4 separate regions of the Homo sapiens genome follow, and all the other regions are linked to region 4. The links are contacts of gene promoters, found by promoter capture Hi-C in blood cells and fetal thymus (Javierre and others, 2016). All regions are on one chromosome and are shown on one strand. The core of a region is centred on a gene start or on the middle of the fragment in contact, and the rest is flanking DNA. Distances in the headings are between cores, read along the strand shown. Region 1 holds the start of HELZ2 (helicase with zinc finger 2). Region 2 overlaps GMEB2 (glucocorticoid modulatory element binding protein 2). Region 3 overlaps GMEB2 (glucocorticoid modulatory element binding protein 2). Region 4 holds the start of DNAJC5 (DnaJ heat shock protein family (Hsp40) member C5).

What was found. Contacts are between HindIII fragments. The CHiCAGO score rates a contact against its expected background, and 5 or more counts as called.
Region 1: a contact is called between the fragment with the promoter of HELZ2 here and the fragment with the promoter of DNAJC5 in region 4, in 3 of 17 cell types (total CD4 T cells, naive CD8 T cells and neutrophils). The highest score is 7.8, in total CD4 T cells.
Region 2: a contact is called between a fragment that was not itself captured here and the fragment with the promoter of DNAJC5 in region 4, in 1 of 17 cell types (monocytes). The highest score is 5.2, in monocytes.
Region 3: a fragment that was not itself captured here is called in contact with the fragment with the promoter of DNAJC5 in region 4 in 4 of 17 cell types (monocytes, M0 macrophages, total CD4 T cells and 1 more); the score reaches 10.6 in monocytes.

The regions. Positions count from the first base shown.
Region 1 is chr20:63,571,859-63,575,626 of GRCh38, reverse strand. It overlaps HELZ2 (helicase with zinc finger 2), which reads left to right and starts at 1,388. Exons shown (of 20, transcript NM_001037335.2): 1 at 1,388-1,443; 2 at 2,406-3,519. The coding sequence starts at 3,242. RefSeq lists an enhancer at 552-1,279 and silencers at 1,064-1,343, 1,984-2,043. The HindIII fragment of the contact is 21,413 bases long and covers 1-3,768 here.
Region 2 is chr20:63,592,740-63,596,338 of GRCh38, reverse strand. GMEB2 (glucocorticoid modulatory element binding protein 2) reads left to right here. Exons shown (of 10, transcript NM_012384.5): 6 at 572-729; 7 at 3,257-3,328. Among named protein-coding and RNA genes, the nearest start is that of HELZ2, 20 kb to the right of the region's middle. The HindIII fragment of the contact is 6,029 bases long and covers 1-3,599 here.
Region 3 is chr20:63,609,872-63,613,708 of GRCh38, reverse strand. All of the region lies in intron 2 of GMEB2 (glucocorticoid modulatory element binding protein 2), which reads left to right. Among named protein-coding and RNA genes, the nearest start is that of GMEB2, 15 kb to the left of the region's middle. RefSeq lists an enhancer at 3,047-3,216. The HindIII fragment of the contact is 1,398 bases long and covers 1,462-2,859 here.
Region 4 is chr20:63,893,709-63,897,234 of GRCh38, reverse strand. It overlaps DNAJC5 (DnaJ heat shock protein family (Hsp40) member C5), which reads right to left and starts at 2,109. Exons shown (of 5, transcript NM_025219.3): 1 at 1,912-2,109. RefSeq lists a silencer at 2,028-2,267, enhancers at 2,267-2,794, 2,727-2,896 and a cis regulatory region at 2,811. The HindIII fragment of the contact is 2,023 bases long and covers 1,018-3,040 here.

The DNA of each region.
Region 1 (3,768 bases), core at 139-2,638, 320 kb after region 4:
AACTGTGATTGCATCACTGCACTCCCGCCGGGGCAATGGAAGGAGACTCAGTCTCAAAAAAAAAAAAAGCCCTGTCCAGCCTTTCTTGGTGATGTGATGCTTTTCCAAATGGACTTGAAAGTCAGTGTGTCCACCATGCGACTGCAGGTTAGTTTAGGAGGAACTCACGTCTTTGTGTGGTGTTGAGCCTCTCCATCCAGGAACACAGCGTTCCACACAAATTCTCCCAGCGTTCCACGCACATGGACCCTGCTCAGCGCCCGGCCCCTGGGGCTGCTATTGTCGAGGGCCTGCCCTCTCCCAGGAGCTCCAACGTGATTGGTCTGCGGAGAGGCTCCCTGGTGGTTGACGGCCCACCCAGCCGACCTCCCGAGGTCGCTGTGAGCCCCCAGCCTGGCCCTCCCCACGAGGTGCTGGCCTTGGGTGGCAGCCTTGCTTCCTTGTTTCAGGGGCAGCATCACTGTCCGTTATCTACTGCTGCAGAACAGATCGCCCCAAAGCTCAGGGGCTTAAAACAACACAGATGTTTATTTTATTTATTTATTTGTTTTGAGATGGAGTCTTGCTCTGTTGCCCAGGCTGGAGTGCAGTGGCGCAATCTTGGCGCACTGCAACCTCCACTTCCTTGGTTCAAGCAATGCTTCTGCCTCAGCCTCCCGAGTAACTGGGACTACAGGCGCCCGCCCCCACCCCTGGCTAATGGGACGTTTATTTTAAACATAGACATCTAACAGCTGGGCGTGGTCTAGGTGGGAGGGTTAGGCCTGGGGTCTCCCTGAGATGGCAGTAAGGCTGGGGCTGGGACTCGAGCTGCAAGTGGGCTGGAGGCCTCAGCTCCTCTATGGGGCCTCCCCACAGGGCTGCTGAGGGCCCAGAGCCAGTCCAGAGAGCCAAGAGCCAGGCGTGCTGACTCTGGGACCCGGCGGCCACTTAGCCATTCCTGCCATATCCTGGTTGGTGACAGAAGGGACTTGGGGTCCCAGCAGCACCAGGGCCACGGGCAGGTCCTGCCTGTCAGGGGACCCAGGCTTCCAGGTCAGCTGTGCCTGGATTTCTCCAGGGGCTGATGGTGGAGTCACCAGACCATCCTGCCGTCCAGGGCCGGGCAGGGTCTCACCCCTTCCGCCTGGCACATCATCGGGGCGTCTCTGGTGTGTGAAGGGCTGGACGGGGCGTGGGGCCCTGGAGGGGTGCGGGAAAGGACCCCCACCCCCAGCCGCCTCCGCCTTCGACGGCGCTGGCCCTTCAGGGAGGGGCGTCCTCTGCTCGCTGGCGCTTCCCGAGGTTCCCTCGCAGCGGGGGCCGAGCTGTCGCTGGAGGCGGGGCAGGGCGGGGCGGGGCGGGGGGCGGTGAGGTAATTTCCGCGATCAGCGTCAGTGCCCGGGCCAGAATCGAAACTGAGAGCTCCTGGGCAGGCTCGGCAGGGCAGGCAGCTCCAGGAGGGTGAGCGCGGGGGTCCCAGGGCGGAGGGGCGGGGGCGCGGGGGTCCAGGGGCGGCTCCAGGAGGGTGAGCGCGGGGGTCCCAGGGTGGCGGGGCCGGGGGCGGAGGGGGGGGTCCGGGAGGGTGAGTGCAGCCGGGGGCGCGGAGTCCCGGGAGCCACAGACCCAGCCCGGGGCAGTGCAGCCCGTCCAGGACCAGCACCCTCCGCAGCAAGACCCAGCGCTGTGGTCTCTGCACCCACTGGAGCGCAGGATTTTGGGGTCTCGGCTCCCGTCCTTTCTGGATGGCAGACTCGGATGTTTTCTCAGAGGGGTCCGCGGGGAGTGCCGGGTTCTCATACTGAAGTCTGCCTCCAGTCTGTTGCTTTTAAACTTACTCTTCTTGTAGCATCCCAGCTGCGGTGGGGACCCGGGGACCCATCTCTTCCTGGCACCCTGAGCTCTGGTGGGCACTGTACCCTCCTCTCCGTGAGGCCCCTCCCCAGGTGCAGATGTGGAGTCCTCTTTTCCTGGGGGCCAGTGGTCATTCAATAGAAAAGGAGGTGCTGTGTCCTTAGAAGAGTCAGGAGCCTGAGGCCCTGGGGTGCACAGGACCCCTGGCTGGGGCAGAGGGGTGCGGCCTCCTGGGGGCGGCACTGTGCCAAGGGCTCTGCCCCCTCCAGGGCTCCACAAGCAGTCACCTTGGCTCCTTCTAGGTGGGGCCTGAGACCCTTCAGGAGGGAGGGTCTGGCTGTGTCCGGGTCAGTGAGCCCTGTACTCCCTGACAGGACACAGCTACTGCCAAGGCCTCCACTTGGGCGTCAGGGTGGGGAGAGTCCCAACTCCTTGCTTGGTGGAGAGGCCTCTGCTTGGGCATCAGGATAGGCAGATCCCCAGCTCCTTGCCTGGTGGAGAGGCCGTGCTTCTGAGCTGGGCCTGGACCAGATGTCCTCTGGCCTCAGTCTCACCTGCTCCTTCTGTCGCAGGCTTCGAACCGTGGCCAACAGTTCCAGTGGACTGCGTGGACCCGTGAGCTCAGGAGCCTCAGACGCCTCCCTGGAGAGCCAAGCTGGTGTTCGAGGTGGCGCCTCCAGGGTCCACCCTGCTGCCCAACAGCCCCGCGGCCACCAGAGGGCCGTCCCTGGCCCGGCTGTGTGCCCTGGTGGACCTGTGTCTGGGCTGCTCCCGCTGCACCCAGCGGCTCAATGAAAGCACCTACGTCCTCCGTAGGGTGGAGCATGACTGCTCCCGCGAGATCCTGCTGGCCCGCTTTAAGCAGGCCACCAAGAGCAAGGTCTGGCGCGTGGTGGGCTGCCGGCCCACCTTCCCAAGGCCCCTGTGCTACCAAGTCTGCCACTACTACAGCCCTGGGCTCGGCTGCCGGCGCCACCGAAACCGGTGCACCTTTGCCCGCAGTCGCGAGGAGGCCCTGGTCTGGACCTTCGAGCGTCAGCACAACCTCCAGCGCCTATGGCTGAAGGCGGAGGTGCAGGGCAGCGGGGCCCAGGGAGGGGCAGGCCGGGCGGCCGACGCCATCCTTACGGAGTTTGGCGGCCGCTTCGAGCTGCTTTGCTCCCTCTGCTTCAGGCGCTGTCCCCCATGCATCTGTCGCGTGGACCCCCAGGGGCAGTGCCCTGAGCACGGAGCCTGCCCCTCCCTCCTGGCCCACGTGAGCGCCGAGGGCCGCCGCAAGCAACAGTTTGTGGTGGTGAGGCCGCGGCCCCGGGCCGGCCAGCCTCCTGCCTACTGCAGGTTTGTGGGGCGTGGGCAGCCGTGCTGGCGTGGGGAGTCCCGCTGCCAGTTTGCACACAGCGCCGTGGAGATGGCTGTGTGGGAGGCCGAGCAGCTGGGTGGCCTCCAGCGGGGGGACCTGCTCACACCCCCTGCCCCTGATGGCGACGGGCGCACGGCCCCCCTTGGCCAGCCCCCTGGGGCCCAGCTGTACTGCCCGGCCTGCTTGGTCACCTGCCACTCTCAGGAGGCCTTCGAGAACCACTGCGCATCCTCGGAGCACGCACAGATGGTGGCCTTCGACCAGGCCCTGCCCTGGGAGCACCGTTCCCCACCCCCGGGACTCTCCAAGTTCGAGCTCTGCCCAAAGTAAGGATACTCGAGGCAGGAGCTTGGAGTAGGGCAGGAGCCCACCATAGGCAGAACCAGAGGTTCCCAGGAGCTTGGAGTGGGGCAGGAGCCCACCACAGGCAGAGCCAGAGGCTCCCAGGAGCTTGGAGTAGGGCAGGAGCCCACCGTAGGCAGAGCCAGAGGCTCCCAGGAGCTTGGAGTAGCGCAGGAGCCCACCACAGGCAGAGCCAGAGGCTCCCAGGAGCTTGGAGCAGGGCAGGAGCCCAC
Region 2 (3,599 bases), core at 217-2,716, 300 kb after region 4:
AGGGCCCTGGGAGGGCGGCTCTCAGCAGTTTGGGCCGTACGAAGCCTTCCTGGTAAAGATGAGGATGAGCGGCAGCCATGGCCGTTGGTGCTGTCCTGCGCCCTCATCACTCTTCTTGGCTGTCTCTGTGCCTTTAGAAGGAGGAAGGTTCTCCTGGAAGTGATTTCCCACCTTCCTCTGCTTCAGAATGAGTCACGCATGATGCAGGTGGACTGGGCCCACCTTTGTTAGCTGTGGGTCACTCCCTTGGGGCTGGGGTAGTGGGACATCCCAGAAAGGCCCAGCCCCACAGACTCTGACGGGCACCTCCAGGACACCCACTGGCCAGCGCTTGCCCCCTTCCTGGGGACAGTGCCGTAGCGTGGGCCTGGGCCGGCTGCTTCTTCAGCAGCAGGGTCCTGCACGCCGAGCTCGCGCTAAGAGGGAAGTAGAGCCCACCCTGCCCTGTGGAGCTGCCAGCGCCTCTGCTAGGCCTGCCCCACGCAGGTGGATGGCCCAGGTCAGGGTGGGCGGGCCAGGTGCCTTCGGCTCTGGGGCCGACCTGGACGCTCCATGCCACTGTCTGTCACAGGAAGATCATGGACTCCGGGGAACTGGACTTCTACCAGCATGACAAGGTCTGCTCCAACACCTGCCGCAGCACAAAGATTGACCTCTCAGGAGCCCGTGTGTCCCTGAGCAGCCCCACGTCGGCCGAGTACATTCCCCTCACGCCCGCCGCAGCCGACGGTAGGTGCACAGGGCTGCTCGTCCTGACCCAGCCCCACCCTGGCCATGGCCACAGAGGGTGACATGCCCCTGGGTGGCCTCCTTGGCCCCAGGCGTTTGCTCACGCCAGGACTGCCGGTCTCCTGCCTGGGACCCTGAGTTGTCTGGGATCAGCCTCCTCCTGCCTCACAGAGGAGATCTGGCAGAATTGCTGCTTTCATTGACAAGGAAGATTGAAGCACTTTTCTTTTTAAGCCATTTTGGTTGTAATATAATAACTCACGTGTGGGGAAGGGTATAGCGAGTAACAGAGAGTGCCTGGGCGCCCACCCGGCCCCCTCCCTCCCACCCCCACGGCCCAGCCCCAAATCTGGACCCGCTTCCCTCCTGACCTGGCGGTTTACGGAACTGCGCGCCTGTGCTCCCGCCTTCCGTGCTGGGTGCCTTGCTGCAGGTATTCCTGCCACTTGGGTTTTTGGGTGACGCTTTAGATACTGTTCCACGTTGGTGTCTGTAGCTCTAAACTGTGGAGAGGTTGTTCCCTAGAATTCTTTCCAGCTTTATGAATAGAGAAATTTTTCTTAAAACTACAGTTAGGCTGGGTGTGGTGGCTCACACCTGTAACCCCAGCACTTTGGGAAGCCGAGGCGGGTGGATCACTTGAGGCCAGCCTGGCCAACAGGATGAAACCCTGTCTCTATTAAAAGTACAGAAGTTAGCCGGGTGTGGTGGTGCATGCCTGTAGTCCCAGCTACTCAGGAGGCTGAGGCAGGAGAATCGCTTGAACCCAGGAGGCGGAGGTTGCAGTGAGCTGAGATCGCTCCACTGCCCTCCAGCCTGGGCGACAGTGTGAGATTCCATCTCAAAACAAAAAAACTGAAGTTAAAGTGAAGTTAGGTCCTGGGCTCCCTGGTCACATCTCTGGGTGGTCTTTGGTGATGTGTTTCCAGCAATGCCACATGCATTGTCCCTAAGCTGCCACTCCGCATTGCTGGCCAGATTGTGTTCCTGTGTGCCCAGGGACGTCCTTGTTGTTGGCCCAGGTGGGACCCAGTTGAGTCCTGTCCTGTCCCGCTGGGTAGGAGAGTGAGGCCAGGGCACTAGGGAGGCCTCACCCTTCTCCTGGGCCCCCTTCCACGTCCTGCTGGGGCAGCCTGGCAGGTTCAGTGCTGAGTCCTGAGAAGCCCAGGACACTTGGGCTGCTGTGGTCAGAGGGGCTGGGTAGAGCCCAGCCTCCTGTCTGTCCTCCCCAGGGCCTCCCCAGCGGCTCCACCGCGTTAGTGTTGGCCCTGCCTGACCGCCTGCCAGGGAAGGAACTGGGCCTTCCACGCCCTGTAGTCAGTGCCTCACAGCTAGGCTGAGGCTCAGCTCTTCTGAAGATGATTTGGGTTCTTTAACCTGCAATCTCTGAGAACCATTGACTTGGCTACTGTGCAGTTAGTAAAAGATGCTGTGCCAGCCCCAACTCGGAAAAACGACTCATTCACGCCCCAAATAATTCCAGATGTGTAATATGAGTCATACTCACCACTGCCATGTCTTTGATGAATGTGGAAAAGGCCAGTATTCCCAAAACATTCAACTGCTTCCAGGTCGTTGGTGGTGGTGTTGGAGAAGGAGTCCTGCTCTGTCGCCCAGGCTGGAGTGCAGGGGCCTGATCTCGGCTCACTGCAACCTCTGCCTTCCGGGTTCTAGCGATTCTCCTGCCTCAGCCTCCCGAGTAGCTGGGATTACAGGCGCACGCCGCCACACCCGGTTGACTTTGTATTTTAGTAGAGACGGGGTTTTGCCGTGTTGCCCAGGCTGTTCTCGAACTCCTGACCTTAGGTGATCCACCCGCCTCAGTCTCCCAAAGTGCCTGGATTACAGGCGTGAGCCACCACATCCGGCCCCGGGTTTGTTTTTTAAGCCAGATCTGTGTATAAAGTCTCTATCAGCAACGCCCAAAATGGCCACATATGAACGACACGCCCAGTTGTGTTCTGCAGGCGCGAGAGAGGGACCCACAGGAAGAGCCAGGACGGTTTCTGTCTCTCAAAGCCCCACTTGTTCTGGTGTAGAAAAATGGAAACATGATAGATACTGAGATTTATGATGACTTCAATGAAGCATCACTTGAAGAGGCGAGGTGAGGGCGAGCCCCACGGGCGACAGACGCAGCCGCAGAGCTCTCGGTGGGAAAACAAGTCAAGCAGAAGGATCACCTTGTCTCGCTCCTGACGGTCCAGTCGAAAGTGCTTGTTGAGTACAATCGTAAATGGACAAGAGGAGGAAAGTGTTGAGGATTTGCTGAAATTGGGTGACGGGTTCAAGGGATTTGTTTCTGCGTTGTTTCTCCTTTGTATGTTTGACAACGTCTGTGATTAAAAATAGCCATAAAATATAAGGCAGGTACACTTTGGCTGTACTAGTGCGTATCCTGTGTTTGTCAGTTTTGTGAAGACAGATGGAAAGGTTCAGAAGGTGGTGTGAGGAGGGTGGACAGGGTATGTGGGGTGTGGGACTGTGGTCCAAACAGCACTCACCCGAGGTTCCCTTTCGGCTGCAGTGAATGGGTCTCCTGCGACCATCACCATAGAGACCTGTGAAGACCCTGGCGACTGGACCGCGGCCATTGGAGGTACGAGGTTCCTCCTTGTGGGCTTCTCACAAGCCCTGGCGGGGTGGTGGAGTCTCTGCCCACCTCGGGCCACACAGGGGCTCCAGGAGTCCAGGTGGGGCCGGCAGGGTCTTTGTGGAGAAAGGCCTGGTTCCAGCAGCATTGTCGTGGGCGCTCTGAGGCTGACCTGCTAGATTTTGGCACTGTGGATGTGTCTGGGCAGTGCAAGCCCAGCACAGTGCCAGGCGCTGCCGGCTCTGGCATGGTGTCCTCGTGGCTATGGTGATGTCCT
Region 3 (3,837 bases), core at 911-3,410, 280 kb after region 4:
ACCCCGTCTCTACTAAAAGTACAAAAATTAGCCAGGCGTGGTGGCGGGCGCCTGTAATCCAGTTGGGAGGCTGCAGCAGGAGAATTGCTTGAACCAGGGAGATGGAGGTTACAGTGAGCCGAGATTGTGCCACTGCACTCCAGCCTGGGTGACAGAGCGAGACTCAGTCTCAAAAAAAAAAAAAAAAGAAAACAAAAATGTTGTAGTAATAAAATCCTGCACAGTTGTCTTCGTACACAGTTGTGGCTTAGAGCTCTCCTCTGTGGGTGTCTTGCCGGCTGGTGGCAGTGACGGACCAGGGCAGTGGCAGACACAGGCGCACGGCTGGCGCAGTGCCCTGGAGGCTGGTGTCCCACTTGCTGTCTTGGTTTCCTGTGGTCACTGTGGAAGGTGGCTCCTGTAGGTTAGCTTTGCTTTATGAACACTGAGTAGGAGCTTTTTTTCTAGGATGTTAAAAGAATTTGCTCACATCTTATGCTTGAGTTAACTCTTTGAAGAACAGTGAGAAGTAGAGAGGAAATAATTGCCAAGTTCTCTTGCTTGCTCTGTTTATGATTGTGTCAGTTTTCTTTTGCTGTTTAAGAAAACACCCAATGGCAGGCACCTGTAGTCCCAGTTACTCAGGAGGCTGAGGCAGGGGAATGGCGTGAATCCGGGGGGCAGAGCTTGCAGTGAGCCAAGATTGCGCCACTGCACTCCAGCCTGGGCAACAGAGTGAGACTGCGTCTCCGAAAAAAAAAAAGAAAAAGAAAGAAAGAAACCATCCAAAACTTAGTGGCTTAAGACAAGACATAGTTGTTATTATTTTTAATTCTGTTGGTTGGTTCGTGGTTCTGCTGGTCTGGGCCGGCCTCACCAACCCCTGTCGTCAGCTGACAGCTTGGCAAGGACCTGCTGGTCTGGGTGGCCTTGGCCACAGGGGTCTCTGGAGGGAGGCAGTCTGAGGCACAGGTAGGCTCGGCTGGGTGGCTCTCCTCTGCTTTGCCCGGTCTGTGATCCTCCACCTGGAGGCCTGGACTTCTTTGCCCCGTAAGCCCACAGTTGCAGAGGAAAGTGGGCCTCCTGCTCACTTCTGTTGCCTTGATTGACGCAAGCGACATCACCAAGTGCTGGTTCAAGGGCAGAGCTAAGACTGCCTCTTGGTAGGAAGTTACAAAACGTTGAGATCATTTCTGTGGCCACAGAATGACATTTCCATTCGTCCGCCTCCCGCCTTTTCCTGGGCCTTCCCAGCTCACCCCTTGTGGCCACGTCGGGTCTGGGTGTGGCTGGGGCTTCTTGGTTATGGCACGTCTTGATCCAGAGACTGGTGAACTAAAACCTAGCGACTTCCCCTCCCCTACTGAGCGTGCGGTGGCAGACAAGACAGGACGGGCTCCAGGGCAGGTGGCTTGTTCGAAGGCACCTCACTGATCCAAGATGGGGCAGGGTGGCCCTTTGGCCAGATGCGGCCAGAAAGCTTTCTAAGGTGTGAGGGAAGAGTGACAACCATAGCCCAGGTTGGTCTTTATTCTGAGACCATCTCTTTTTTAAATTTTCTATTTTTTATATTTTTTCCTTTCTTAGATTTCTGTGGGTCAGAACCATTTTTTACCTTGACAGAGTCTTTTGCCAGTGGAGAAACTGGAGACATGAAATGATTTTTTGTTTTTCGAAACAGAGTCTCGTTCTGTTGCACAGACTGGAGTGCAGTGGCACAGTCACGGCTCATGGCAGCCGTGACCTCCTGGGTTCAAGGAATCGTCCTGCCTCAGCCTCCTGAGTAGCTGGGACTCTACAGGCATGTGCCACCATGCCCGGCCCCGTGTAGATTTTTAGTACAGTGCTGGGACTGCAGGCATGTGCCACCACGCCTGGCTAATGGGCTCTCACTGTGTTGCCCAAGCTAGTCTTGAACTCCTGGACTCAAGCAGTCCTCCCACCTCAGCCTCCCGAAGCACTGGGGTTACAGGCTTGAGCCACCATGTCTGGCCGATGCAAAACAATTTGATCCCCTGGGGATTCCTTGTTTGGAGAAGAACCTTCTAGCTCCACTGTGTCTGGAATGTTCCTTGCGAGATCACACTAGTCAGATGTGTTTCCTTTTTTTTTTTTGAGACCAAGTCTCACTCCGTCACACAGGCTGGAGTGCAGTGGCATGATCTCAGCTCACTGCAGCAGCCTCCACCTCCCGGGTTCAAGTAAATCTCTTGCCTCAGCCTCCTGAATAGCAGGGATTACAGGCACCCGCCACCACGCCTGCCTAAATTTTGTATTTTTCGTAGAGACAGGGTTTCACCATATTGGCCAGGCTGGTCTTGAACTCCTGACCTCAAGTGATCCACCACCTTGGCCTCCCAAAGTGCTGGGATTATAGGCATGAGCCACCACGCCCAGCCTGTTTCTTCTCTTTTAAATTGCTGTGGCATAAGGTCCTGCCAAGGTTTCCTCTGCCTCATGGCACAGTGGCCCCTTCCACACACAAGAGCCGGGTCTGGGATGGCATTTGTGCCCTTAGCCTGTGCCCTCTCCCCACGCAGAGGCGGTGCTGTGTGTCCCAGGCTGGGGACAGCAGTGCTTGTTTCTGGCAGTTTCTGAATTAGCCATGCTTGCAGCCTAACAAACCACCGCAGAGCTTGGTGGCTTAAAGCAGCAGACACTGGTCATTTCTTAAGGTTTTCGGGCCTGGGCTGGTGCTGCTGGGCCTCGCCGGGGGGTCCAGGCTGGGCTCACTTGCATATCCGGGCATTGGTGGGCTGGCCGAGGCTCTGCATGTGGTCCTCATCTGCCAGGACACCTGCCTGGGTGTGCTTAGCAGGAGGAGAGCCAGAGTCCTCGTAGGGCCTCGTCACAGCCTCTTGGTCAAAGCTCTTCAAAGCTTGGCCCAAAGTCAAGTGGAGGGGGTGGGAAATAGCCCCCTGTCTTGATGGAGGGAGCCATGAAGGACCAGAGGGCATTTTTCAGTCTGCAGTTGCTTTGCCAGGACGCCAAGGCTCTGCCCTCGCGGGACAGTGGCTTATGGAGCAGTGGAGAGTCTGCATGCGCCTTCTTCTCTGAGAAGAGAACCCCACGTGGCAGCTGAGGCAGGGCTGTCTTGAAGGACTTAAAGATCCTCTTCTTTTTTGTGGGGAATTAAATCTGTTCTTCTACCATCTGGAAATTGAGACTTCCTCTTGCTACATGTTTTTTTTGTTTTGTTTTCTTTTTTTGAGACAGATTCTCACTCTGTCGCCCAGACTGGAGTGCAATGGCGCGATCTCGGCTCACTGTAACCTCCACCTCCCGGGTTCACGCCATTCTCTTGCCTCAGCCTCCTGAGTAGCTGGGCCTACAGGCGCCCGCCACCACGCCCGGCTAATTTTTTGTATTTTTAGTAGAGACGGGGTTTCACCGTGTTAGCCAGGATGGTCTCGATCTCCTGACCTTGTGATCCGCCTGCCTCGGCCTCCCAAAGTGCTGGGATTACAGGTGTGAGCCACCGTGCCCGGCTGGTGTGCGTGTGTTTTTAAGCAAACTTCTGGAAGTTTAGAAGTGCACACATCATACAGTTGGCTGTTATGAGGTGCACAGCTGGGAACCCCACCCAGACCTCTCCCAGCTTCTCCACATCATCTCCCCAGAGGCAGCTGCCCGCACGGGTTCCAGAAACTGGAGACTTGTTCCCTGTTTCAGACAACCCTCATGCCAGTGTGGGAACACCATGTCTGCAGGATTAATTTCTAGAAATGGAGGTGGAGTCAGAGGGGCATGTTTCTAGAAATGGAGGTGGGGTCAGAGGGGCATGTTTCTAGAAATGGAGGTGGGGTCAGAGGGGCATGTTTCTAGAAATGGATGTGTGGGTCAGAGGGGCATGTTTCT
Region 4 (3,526 bases), core at 860-3,359:
TTAGTAGAGATGGGGTTTCACCATGTTGGCCAGGCTAGTCTCGAACTCCTGACTCCAAGTGATCCGTCCGCCTCAGCCTCCTAAAGTGCTGAGATTACAGGCATGAGCCACTGTGCCCCCAACAGATCTGACTTTTTAGAAACGTTTTAACTTCAAAATAATTATAGATTCAAAGTTGCGAAAAGATTTACAAGGGTCCCATGCACCCTTCCAAGCCACCCCTTACCTGGCTGTCTTTCCTCATTGGGCAGGTGAGAGATGGTGGCTCTCTGTCCTGAGGGCCAACACTCCAGGAACCCTTACCTCTACATGCTCAGTCCTCACCGACAAGGACTTCCGGGTGACAAGGCCAGCACCACGCACAGCTGCTGCTAAGCTCCTCACGTTCATTCACTGAACAAATATTTACTGGGCCCCGATCATGTGCCAGCAACTGTTTTTTTCACAAAACATTCTCTCCACGGACCTTACTAACTCACAGTAAAATATTAAGTATGATAAATGCATTAAGCAGGACACTAGGAGGATTCAGCGCTGTGGGAAAATTAAGCGAGGAAGGGAACTGGGTGGCAAGGCAGGCAGGCAGTCGCCAGGCTAGGGGGTTAAGGAACCAGGCATTCCAGGAAGATCCAAGGACAGAGCATGTGGCTCTGTTCAGAACTAGCAAGGAGGCTGATATGGCAGGTGCAGAGTGAGTCAGGGGCCAGTCTGAGGGTGGGTGGACTCAGACGCTGCAGGCTCATTAACACCCTCGCCAGGGGTGTCCCTCAGAGTCCACACAGCCAGCAACCAGAGCGGGCCCCTACAGCTCTCTGCTGGGCCAGACGCCAGCTGGAGCCACCCCGAGTCCTACAGCACCGACACAAGTGAAAGGGGAACTCAACCGAAACTTCCCCAAAGCCCTTAGATCCAGGCTTCTAATTTCATCTCTTGTTTGACAGACTACTCATTCCTGAAACTCAGCTGACATTTTTTTAAAAAGAGAAGCAAATAAACGAACATAAAATCTCAGAAGCTTTGAGTAAACTTTTGCCTTCAGGTAACCATGACAATAGTGGGAGCAATGTAACTGTTTTTGTCATTAGAATAGGTTTTTCTAAACAGGCAAATAAGGGCAGACGTGTCTAACCACCATCAAATCTTCCCAACCAAGCCTAAGCCGGAAAACAAAAATAAAGCTGAAATTTTTGCTTCCTTTTCCTGTATGACACAACTGAATGAATTTGAGAAATCATGGCTTCGGCACACGAAAAAGAGAGTCTTTAATCCAGACACTTAACACCAACAAGTTAGAACCTGAACGGACGAGTTCCTAATACTCTCCTTAAGAGTTCAATATAAAGCATGGCTTCAAATGTTTTTATAAAGCGGAGAAAACAGGTTTTTTCTAACAAACCAAATGCTTTTTGGAATTTACAACGTCGGAAAGATTAATTTACGATGCGTTACAGAACAATTTTCAATTCCCCGAGCTATAAACACAACGACCCAGGGACTAAATTATCTGCCTCCCTAAGACCAGCGATGGCCCAGCTTCTCCAGTCCCCCCGCAGGAGAGGAGACCCCGGGGGGTTGGGGGCGGCCGCGGGGACCTGGGGGAGCGGAGGGGGCGTCCGGGCCCGAAGAGACCCGCGGAGAGCGCCGCCCCAGCCCCCACCACGGTGCTCAGACCCCCGGCCCGGCCCGGCCCGGCTCCCGCAGGCCCCGGCGCCGACCTTCCCGCGCCCCCGCCCCGGCCCAGGCCGCGGCGTCGCAGCAGCTCCGGCCCCGAGCGCCCGCGCAGCCCCGGCCCGGGGGTCGCCGCCATTTCCGGCTCTGGAGTGCCGCCCCCGCCCCCCACCCGCGCCCGCCCGCCCGCCTGCCCGGGCCTGACGTGGGCCGATCCGCCCGCCCGACCCGCAGCGAGCTCACCTGCCCGTCCGCCCGCCCGCCCGCCCTCCCGCCGGCTCCGCGGCTCCGCTCCCCGATTCGCGGCGCTGCTGGGCAGCGGCCGACGCACTCCTCAGCCTGGAGACCCCGGGCGGCGGCGGCGGCGGCGGCAGAGGGCGCGGGTGCGGCACCGGCAGCGGCAGCGGCAGCGGCAGCGGAGACGAGCACGCTCACGCACGCACCCGCACCGGCGCGCGCGCTCCCGGAAGGACGTGGGCTCCGGCGTGTCGGAGCCGCGGGTGGGACCGGCTGCGCATGCGCTCAGAGAGCCGAGCGGAGGCTCCGTCCATGAAGGGGCGGAGTCCCGAGTGACAGCCCGGGGCCGAGGCGCCCTGTGGAGGCTCCGCCCATGAGTGGGCGGGGACGAAGCGCGGGGGCGGAGCCAGTCCTCCCAGTCTTCAGGTGGCCGCAGGTGGGTCCCGGGTGGACACGCCATGTGCTGCGGGGAACCGCGCAGAAAGAGAAGCGCAGGGCTTGCTGGTCTTGCAGGTGAGTTTACTCAGCGCTTTAAGTAAGACTGAGAAAACGTAATCGTTCTCATCAAAGAACTGAACAGGGAGCTGGTGGGAGACGGCTGCGGACCGTCGCCCCCGCCCCCACCCGGAGCCACCGTCCTGGGACTGACATTTGCTCAACCCTGGAGCGCCGAGATGGGACGTCCTTCCTTCCTTCCTGTCCAACCACTGAAATGCCGTCGCCAGCGCCCTCCCACCCTCCCGGAATCATCTCCAAACAGCAGCGTGGAGAGGCAGGACCACGAACGTCCACTCCACCTCCCTCTGCCCTTGCCCATCCCGTCGGCCACCCTTCCCTGTCCCTGTAACTGCAGGCGCTCCGCCACTCACTGACGGCCTGCCCCGCGTAGGCTGCCTGGGCCACTTCCCATCCTAGAAGCTCCCAGACCTCTGCGGCCGGTGCTCCTGCCTCCTCGCTTCCACCCTTGCCCGTTTACCTGAGTTCAGTGCGGTCATCTTTTTAAAACAAACCCAGTAGCATCCAAGGCTTCCCGTGACACACTGCGTGAAACCCAAATTCTCTCTCAACACGCTCTGGCCTCCTTCCTCTGCCCTCATAACTCACTGCCATAATGCCGGTCTTGAATTGCCAAGCTTGTTCCAGTCTCACAGCCTGGAAGTGTCAGAGCTTGGGAAGCCTCCTAGCAGTCATTAAGCTGCGCAACATCAAGCAGGCAGCAAGAAAAGGCCTATGGAACCCAAGAAGCAGAAAGGCCAGGTTCATATCTACAACTATAGATTCCAAGAGAATGAAATATTTCAGGCCAGAATTGGAGGGATGAGAGAATGAAATGGGCCTGGTACCGATCTCAGATTGAAGCTATATTCCACTTGTGCTGGGAGCTGCAAGAATGAATGAACCAGCCTTAAGTGAGTCCCTCTGAGACCTAGCAGTTCCACTTTAGGGACATTCTTCCAAAGAAAATATTCCTAAATACAGAAAAAGGTATATGCACTGAAATATTCATGAAGGCACTATTTTTAATAGCGAGAATGGAAACCTGCCCAACTGCACAAGTGAGCACTCAAATGGAATAATATAGTTACTGAAATGTATACAACGGGACCCATGGCTCACGCCT